Regions from separate parts of the Homo sapiens genome. Here region 1 is linked to region 2. Evidence: promoter capture Hi-C in 16 types of primary human blood cells and fetal thymus (Javierre and others, 2016). All regions are on one chromosome and are shown on one strand. The core of a region is centred on a gene start or on the middle of the fragment in contact, and the rest is flanking DNA. Distances in the headings are between cores, read along the strand shown.

Evidence for each region. Contacts are between HindIII fragments. The CHiCAGO score rates a contact against its expected background, and 5 or more counts as called.
Region 1: a contact is called between a fragment that was not itself captured here and the fragment with the promoter of CHRNA2 in region 2, in 3 of 17 cell types (M2 macrophages, erythroblasts and naive B cells). The highest score is 8.4, in M2 macrophages.

What each region holds. Positions count from the first base shown.
Region 1 is chr8:26,669,150-26,673,031 of GRCh38, forward strand. No RefSeq gene overlaps it. Among named protein-coding and RNA genes, the nearest start is that of DPYSL2, 160 kb to the left of the region's middle. The HindIII fragment of the contact is 1,155 bases long and covers 1,522-2,676 here.
Region 2 is chr8:27,477,985-27,481,480 of GRCh38, forward strand. CHRNA2 (cholinergic receptor nicotinic alpha 2 subunit) reads right to left here and starts at 1,277. Exons shown (of 7, transcript NM_000742.4): 1 at 840-1,277. The HindIII fragment of the contact is 14,056 bases long and covers 1-3,496 here.

The DNA of each region.
Region 1 (3,882 bases), core at 849-3,348, 810 kb before region 2:
GACAGAATTATTACTCAAATTAATCTCATTAAAGGCTTGTAGGTTAGGGGTCTTTCAAAGGCAGCTTGGGGAAAGGGACGGGGGTGGCTAGACAATGGGTGCTTGCTGGTGATTGGTTGGGTTGGAGATAAAATCAGGCAGTCAAAGCTGTCTTCTTGAGCTGAGTTACTTCTGGGTGGGGCCACAGGAGCAGTTGGCAGGTCCAGGTTGAGTCAGGGTGTCAGACATACAAAATACCTGAAAAGACATCTTAAAAGGCCTTTCTACAATAGTGATGTTATTTGCAGGAGTAATTGGGGAAGTTACATATCTTATGACCTCTGGAATAGTGACTGGCAATCCTTTATGTCTACACCTTAGCAGAATTCAGGCTCCTCTCTTCCTCCTAGCCCTGTGGTCTCTCATTAGCTTTACATAGGTGGCTGAGTTCTAGGGAAGGGCTATTATCATTTAAACTATAAACTAAATGTCTCCCAAAGTTAGCTTGGCAGCTTGAAGGCCAAAGGCAAGAGGGGGGCTGGCTAGATCAGATTTCCCTCATTGGCACAGTTTTATCACTGATACGATTTTTGCAAAGGCGGTTTCATCTTCAGATTAATTACAAAATTATGTACAAGGTCCAAGTGTCCCCCCACTAGATGATGATCTTAACACTTTCATCTTATGAAAAATGGGGAATAGATTCCCAAAGTGTTGCACTTATCTACGCCAGGCTCCATGGATTCTAGCTGCATTTGAGGGCTCCCTGGCTCATGGCCTCAGCTCCTGACTCAATTGTCCTCAGTGTTTCATTGATAAATTCATAAATTTGAGACTGTCTCAAAAAAATTCTGATAAGTGTTGTGATAAGCTATAAACCATAGATACATAATTAGGAGGATGCAGCTAACTGTGGGGATGAAAAAGACTTCCCAAAGAGTTCTCAAGCCTTCGTGAAATTGAATAAAGACAAAAACAGGGAAGTCTGAAACTGCAGCACGATGACCCACAGGCCCGTTCCATATGTGTCTTGGGCCTAGTTCATCTCCAAGGGCACTGATCTGGTCCTTGAACGTCAGCTTTTTATGTAAACTGTTTGAGGACCAAGGTGTGTGTGGACCTGCTGTTCATTCCCTGATGAGCTGATAGTGATAGTGCGTTCTATCAGTTTTTAGTGGCTTATTTGCACATCTGATCTTATTGAAATGTTATAAAGTTCATGGAGGGCTACTCCATTGGGATTATTATTGCTCTTTCTCTCCCTCATTCCTTGTTCTCCATCTTCCCCTCCACGCCCCACCCTGCCATGAGGGTTCCAGCCATTCCCAAATGAGTATTCTGTCCTTCAGGTCCTTATTTAGAAAAACAGTCATTGGCCTGGTTGCCTTTCAATATTTAATTCTACTTTCATAAGTGGAAATAAAGCCTGCTCTTGCCCCTTTCCTCCTAGATGACAGTAGTTAGGATAATATGGTGACCTAATTAATGGTAGTCTTGGTTGACAAAGTATTTGTCAGGTAATTTGGAATGACAGCTGTGGAAAGCTTACCTCTGGCGGCTTAGCTTAGTTTGTCCAGTAGGTGGCAGTAGTGTACAAGCTGTGCGAGAGCAAGTTCTCAAGAAGACAAAATGCAACTTCCGTTCCTAAGCAAGAAAAGGACAGAATGCAGTATCTGTTCCTAAGCAAGCACCCAGCCAGCTGTATCTGGATGTGGACCTGCATTCGGTCCATGAGGAGACCAACAGGTGACTCTGAGTTTAGAAAGCTACGTATTAAACATAATGGTGTGTAGATTTAGCAAGAGACACTAAAAAAGTTGATTATTAGGGGCCAAAATCTCAGATCCCCTTATTAAGTAAATTGGTTTTCCTGATAGAGGCGCCCTGTGTTCAGATAGCGTTTGTGTGGCAGAGCTGACTGCAAGGAGACAAAGGCTTGCTGGGGCTTTCATAGGATGGTACTGTGCTGGAGTGGGCTATGTACACTACGATCACGCCGAGGCTGCAGGGAGCGAGCTTGCAGGTGTCTGGTGGTATAAGTCGGGCGCAGGAAGATTGTGAGTTATTTACACAGGAGGGCTGTGTGTCCTGGACCATGAAGAAAGGCAGACTTGTAGCTTGTTTGCTTCTTTTTGCTTTCCCCTGCTCCCACCAGCCTGACTTTTTCCCTAATGAGGACTTCACAGTTTGCAGCGTTGTCAAATTAGCTAACCAGATGCAATAGGAGTCAGGCTTTCATTCCCTCTTGCAGCCTGTTTCGGTGCTTCATGTTAAAATCCTGTAGTTACTCTCTCTCTCTTTCTTTCTCTCCCTTTCTCTCTCTCTCTGTCAACAGAGGCACTGTAAATTACCAGTGACTGGTCAAATTTGTGACCATTCTTTATCTCCTTCCCTCCTGTCCCTGAATTTGGCTCTCGTACCCAAGCCTGGCTTTCGTATCACACTGGATGTATGGGGAATGAGGCTCAGCACTGTCACTGCATTTGTGTTATTTCATCTGATCAGTGTTGTGATGAACTATAAACCACAAGGACTCAAGGGATCCCCCTGCCTCAGCCTCCTGAGTAGCTGGGATTACAGGTATTATGATACCCGAAATAGGTAATATATTAGCTGCCTATATACTATTCATGCTGATTCATTTATCTGTACTAATTAAGACTTAGCACCTTAGGTGAATGGAACATAGACCAAACAAGCTTTTTAAAATAACGATTTAAAACAAAAGAAAAGTAATGTATGTTAAATGTAAGAACATATTTAAAAAGTAAAGTATCAGCATAATATTGGCTTCCTATAATGATTTGGGATGTGTTCTTTCTTTTTTAATTTAATGCAAGAATGTATTCAATGTATTATTTCCTCCTTAACTGCTTGACTGGTTGAATTGACCATTGAAACCATTTGGACCTAGAGTTCTCTCTGTGGGAATGTTTTTAAACTACAAATTCAATTTCTTTAATAGGCATAGGGCTATTTAGTTTATCTGTTTCTTCTTGAGTAAGCTTTGGTAGTTTGTGTCTTCCATGGAATTTGTCCATTTCGTCTGAGTTGTTGAATTTATTGGCATAGAATTGTTAATCATATTTCCTTATTATCTTCTTAATATTAATAGAATTTTCAGTGATGTCATCCTCTCTTTCCCAATGTTAGTAATTTGCATCATCTCCCTTTTTCTCCTTATCACAATGGTTAGTTTATCAATTTCATTGATCTGAAAAAACTAGCTAATAGTTTAGTTGATTTTCTCTATTGTTTTACTGTTTTGCATTTAATTGATACTTCACTCTGATTTTCATAATTTCTTTTCTTCTATTTAGGACGAATTTAATTTGCTCTCCTTTTTCTAGTTTTCTGAAGTGGAATCTGATGTATTTTTTCTTTTCCAATGAAGGCATTTAGTGCTATAAGTTTCACTGAAGTTACCGTATTCATTTTCTTTTTACCCATGAGTTATTGAGGAATATGCTATTAAGCTTCGAAGTATTTGGGAATGATCCAGAGATTTTTCTGTTACTGACTTCTAACTTAAAGTCATTGTAGTTAGAGAACTTACATGGTGTGAACTTAAATAACCTTAAATTTATGGAGACATATTTTATGAGCCTAAATATGATCCATCTTGAAAAATGTTCCAAATGCACTTGAGAAAAATGAGTATTCTGCTGAGAGGGAATGGAGGGTTCTATAAATGTCGGTAGGCCAAGTTGGTTGATGGAGTTCTTGAAATATCCTAATGTCCACAGTGATTATTCATCTACTTGTTATATCAAGCCATACCAGCCTATTAGCTGAGAATGACTGGATCTGAAATTTTAGGACAGTGTCAAAGTGGAGCCAGCAGCATCATTATTTGGTTTTCCACATTGTTGGGAGACCATCCCTGTAACATATTCCAAAGCA
Region 2 (3,496 bases), core at 27-2,526:
GTGATTTGAGCTCACTTCCCTGTCCATGGTTCTACTAATTCTGTTTTCAACTTCTCACCCACCAGTCCACATTCTCCTCTTTTTACTAACATTTCCTTCTCCCAAAAGGCTGCTTCCATCCCACCTGGTTCCTTTCTGCTGTCCAGAACCTCCCCAAGCATACAGGTCTCAGCTTTTTCACAACTGGCAACATTACACTCCCAAAGAAGCCCCTCCATTAGAGAAACCAGTATGATTTCTTCTTCCAAATAAATGCACTCAAGGTGCTTAGGGGCTAGAGAGTGTAATTCTAGCTTTTATATCTGTTTTGCTCAATCACAGAAGTTTAACACTCAAGGTTGGGTGGGATCTTGAAGGTCATCTGAACAACCACACCAGCTGATGGAGGAATCCACTTCACAAATGCCAGCCTTGGAACAAGCCCAGCTGTAAAGAACTTGAAGAACCTTGGAAGGTATTTACCTTCTAAGTCAGTAAATAGCATTGCTGTCTTTTAGCCCTTTTAAAGGACATAGACAATTTACAGAATGAGTAAATAAATGAACAAAAGAATGGACAGCAGTAGTAAAGACATAGGAGCAGATACAGTGTAACAAAGCCACTATTCCTGAGACTGGGCTAGCCATCCTAGCCAGGAGGTGTTCATCGTCACCTGGCTGTGGACAGCTCCAGCAGGGACAACCAGGAGACTAAAATATTTCTAGGAGCAGGTGACATCCAGCATTCAGACATAACCCCCTCCTGAGTACCCAGAAACTGCTAGTATTTCTTTGACCCCATATCCACAAGCTCTCCACATGCATGCCGCCCTCAACATAAGCCTTGGGTACCTTTCTTACCTGTGGTTACAGAAGAAAACAGGTCATTGAAAGGATGCAGAGAACCAGCCTGGCTTGGAGATTCTGGGCAGCTGACAAAAGTCACCCCAGAAATAGAGTGGCAGGTACAGAATAGAGCTCAGTCACTTCATTTCATGGTCAAACAGAGGCTGAAGAGTGAGGGTTTAGGAGACACCCCGTCGAGCAGAAGACTTACATGAGAGGCATTTGGCTTCCCGGGGACAGCTGGGCAAGCTCTGCAGAGAGGTGGGTTTTCCTGGGGCTGTCCAGCTCTGGCAGCCAGAACGGCTTCATGCAGGTGCCACTGAGGACAGCCCAGGCAGCCCAGCACAAGCGATTCTGCAGGTGAAACCCAAGCCTGGCCCCAGGAGGGGATGAGGGCTCAGCACACAAGCACACAGGCTCACGCTGTTCTCTCTCTCTCTCACACACACACACACATACACACACACACACACACACACAGCCTCTCTGGAGGGGAAGGAGGAGGAGCCTGTGACTCTCCAGCCTATGTCCGGTGGGGACAGATGCAGCTCTGTCCAGTCACCACGATGCTCCCTTCCCTGCTCTCTGGACCCCTGGGCTCCAGGATCACTGCCTGGGGCCCCTGAGTGCACCCACAGGTTCTGGGTCCTGGGTCCTGGGTCTGTCTGTCAATACAGCTTCACTGTATGTGAATCCACTTCACAAATTCCAGCCTTGGAACAAGCCCAGCTGTAAAGAACTTGAAGAACCTTGGAATGTATTTACCTTCTAAGTCAGTAAATAGCATCGGAAAAATTGGAGTAAGGACAGAGCTGCCAGCCAGCCCACGGTTCTCTCCTTGCCCTCCTCCCCTGTGAGACCCCTCCCCCCACCACCCTAGAGGACCACCGGTCACTTGCGCGGCCACCCGGTGTGGCTGCTTCTCTGTCACCCCGTCAGCCTCCTTGCAGGTGACCTTGCCTTTGATTTTCCGGTGAAGCCTCCTTTTCTCTAGTATCAGATGAGTACTCCTGTCTCCTCCTGTGCATGGCGAATCCTGGCCCACTGTGATCTTGACATCACCCCATCTATTAACAGCCTGGGCTTTCTCAGATCCTCCCTCTCTGCCCCACTCGTTCCTTCCCTTCAGCCCCTAAAGAAGCTCATCCTCCACCCTAAAAACACTCTGCTTTCGGCCTTTCCCTCAAGCTACTTGCTAGCTCATCTCCCTTATTTTGTTAAAAGCAAAGGCCCTGGACATGACCCGGCCACAGACTGCTGAGGCTGAATTTCTAGCTCTGCTCTTGAACAGCTGCATAATCCTGGACAGGCCTCTTCAGCTTCCTATGCCTCAGTTTCCTCAGATGTAAAAAGAGGATGTGAACAATGGCTCCTGCCTCATAGGTTTACTATGAGGAGTCAATTAGCACAAATAAACACAAACACACACGTGCATTGTGTGTACACATGTGCATGCGATTGCTAGAATCATCTTTTGAGAGAATTAAAAGACATAAAATACCAAAAAACCATAAACACTCATATTTCCACTATTCATAATTAATAAATGTTAATATTTTACCATATTTACATATATATAAAGTTAGATGTATACATTTTTCATTTGGAGACTGAAGGAAGGAAGGAAGGGAAGGAGGGAAGAAATAAGAAAAAAGAAAAGAAAGGAAAGGAAAGGAAAGAAAAGAAAAGAAAATCACAGCTTGTATCCATCAGGATTCTTGGTTGCAAGCAATAAAAACCTACCAATTACTTTAAGTGGAGAATGGTTTTATTGAGGAACAACGGGTGGTTCACAGAAGCACCTAGAAATCTGGAGGGGCTGCTTGGAGAGCAGGGAGAAGAGGGAAGCCTCTGCCCCGCGGCCAGCATGGTGGGTCCTGCTGCTACAGAGCTGCATGTGAACCTGGCACCGTCATGGGTGCCGCTGTCACCGCTGTCCCTGGAAGCAGCCATCCCTGCTGCTGCCACCGCTGCCACAGTTAATTCTCCTCCAGCCCTGCTCCTTTGTGTCACTAGCTCTGCATACAAAGGTCGAAACAGATGCATCTGATTAAAGCATGTGCTCCCAAACCAGATGCCAGGAAGGCCAAGGAAGCAGGAATCTGGGGTTTTGAGCTTCTATGTGGAAGGTGGGCTCTGCCCACTTCAAGAGGGGGGACATTCCTGAAATATTTGAAAGTTGTTTCAATGCTGGAAAGCACCCCCCTCCCCGCCACACGAAATCTAGCTCTTTGGCTCCTAACATCAGTGCACACTCGACTTTCCATCATCACACTTTGAAAAAAAATGTTTACATCTAATTGTCCTAAAATTTTCACCCAGAATTTGTTTTAATCAGGTTTGGTAAGACATGCAGACACAGAAGTGACTGTCATAAAGGAAGGAGTTTATACTCACAGATCCCTAGAAACAGGAGGGGTGGCACATTCCCGCAGGGCCACACAGAGCAGCACCAGGGAGTGTCAGGAGGTGGAGGGCACAATGTGGGAAGCCTGGCCCCGAGCCTTTATGAGGTTTCCCCGGGAAAACCAGGGCAGTGCAAGGAAGCAGCTTGCGATGAGATAGTTGGAATAATCTTGGTGGGCTCTGAGCTATAGGGATGGTCTCTAATTGCCCAGTACCTAGCTCTGAGGTGATTTGTGGCAGGAGGAATACTGGCTCGGTGTGTGAGA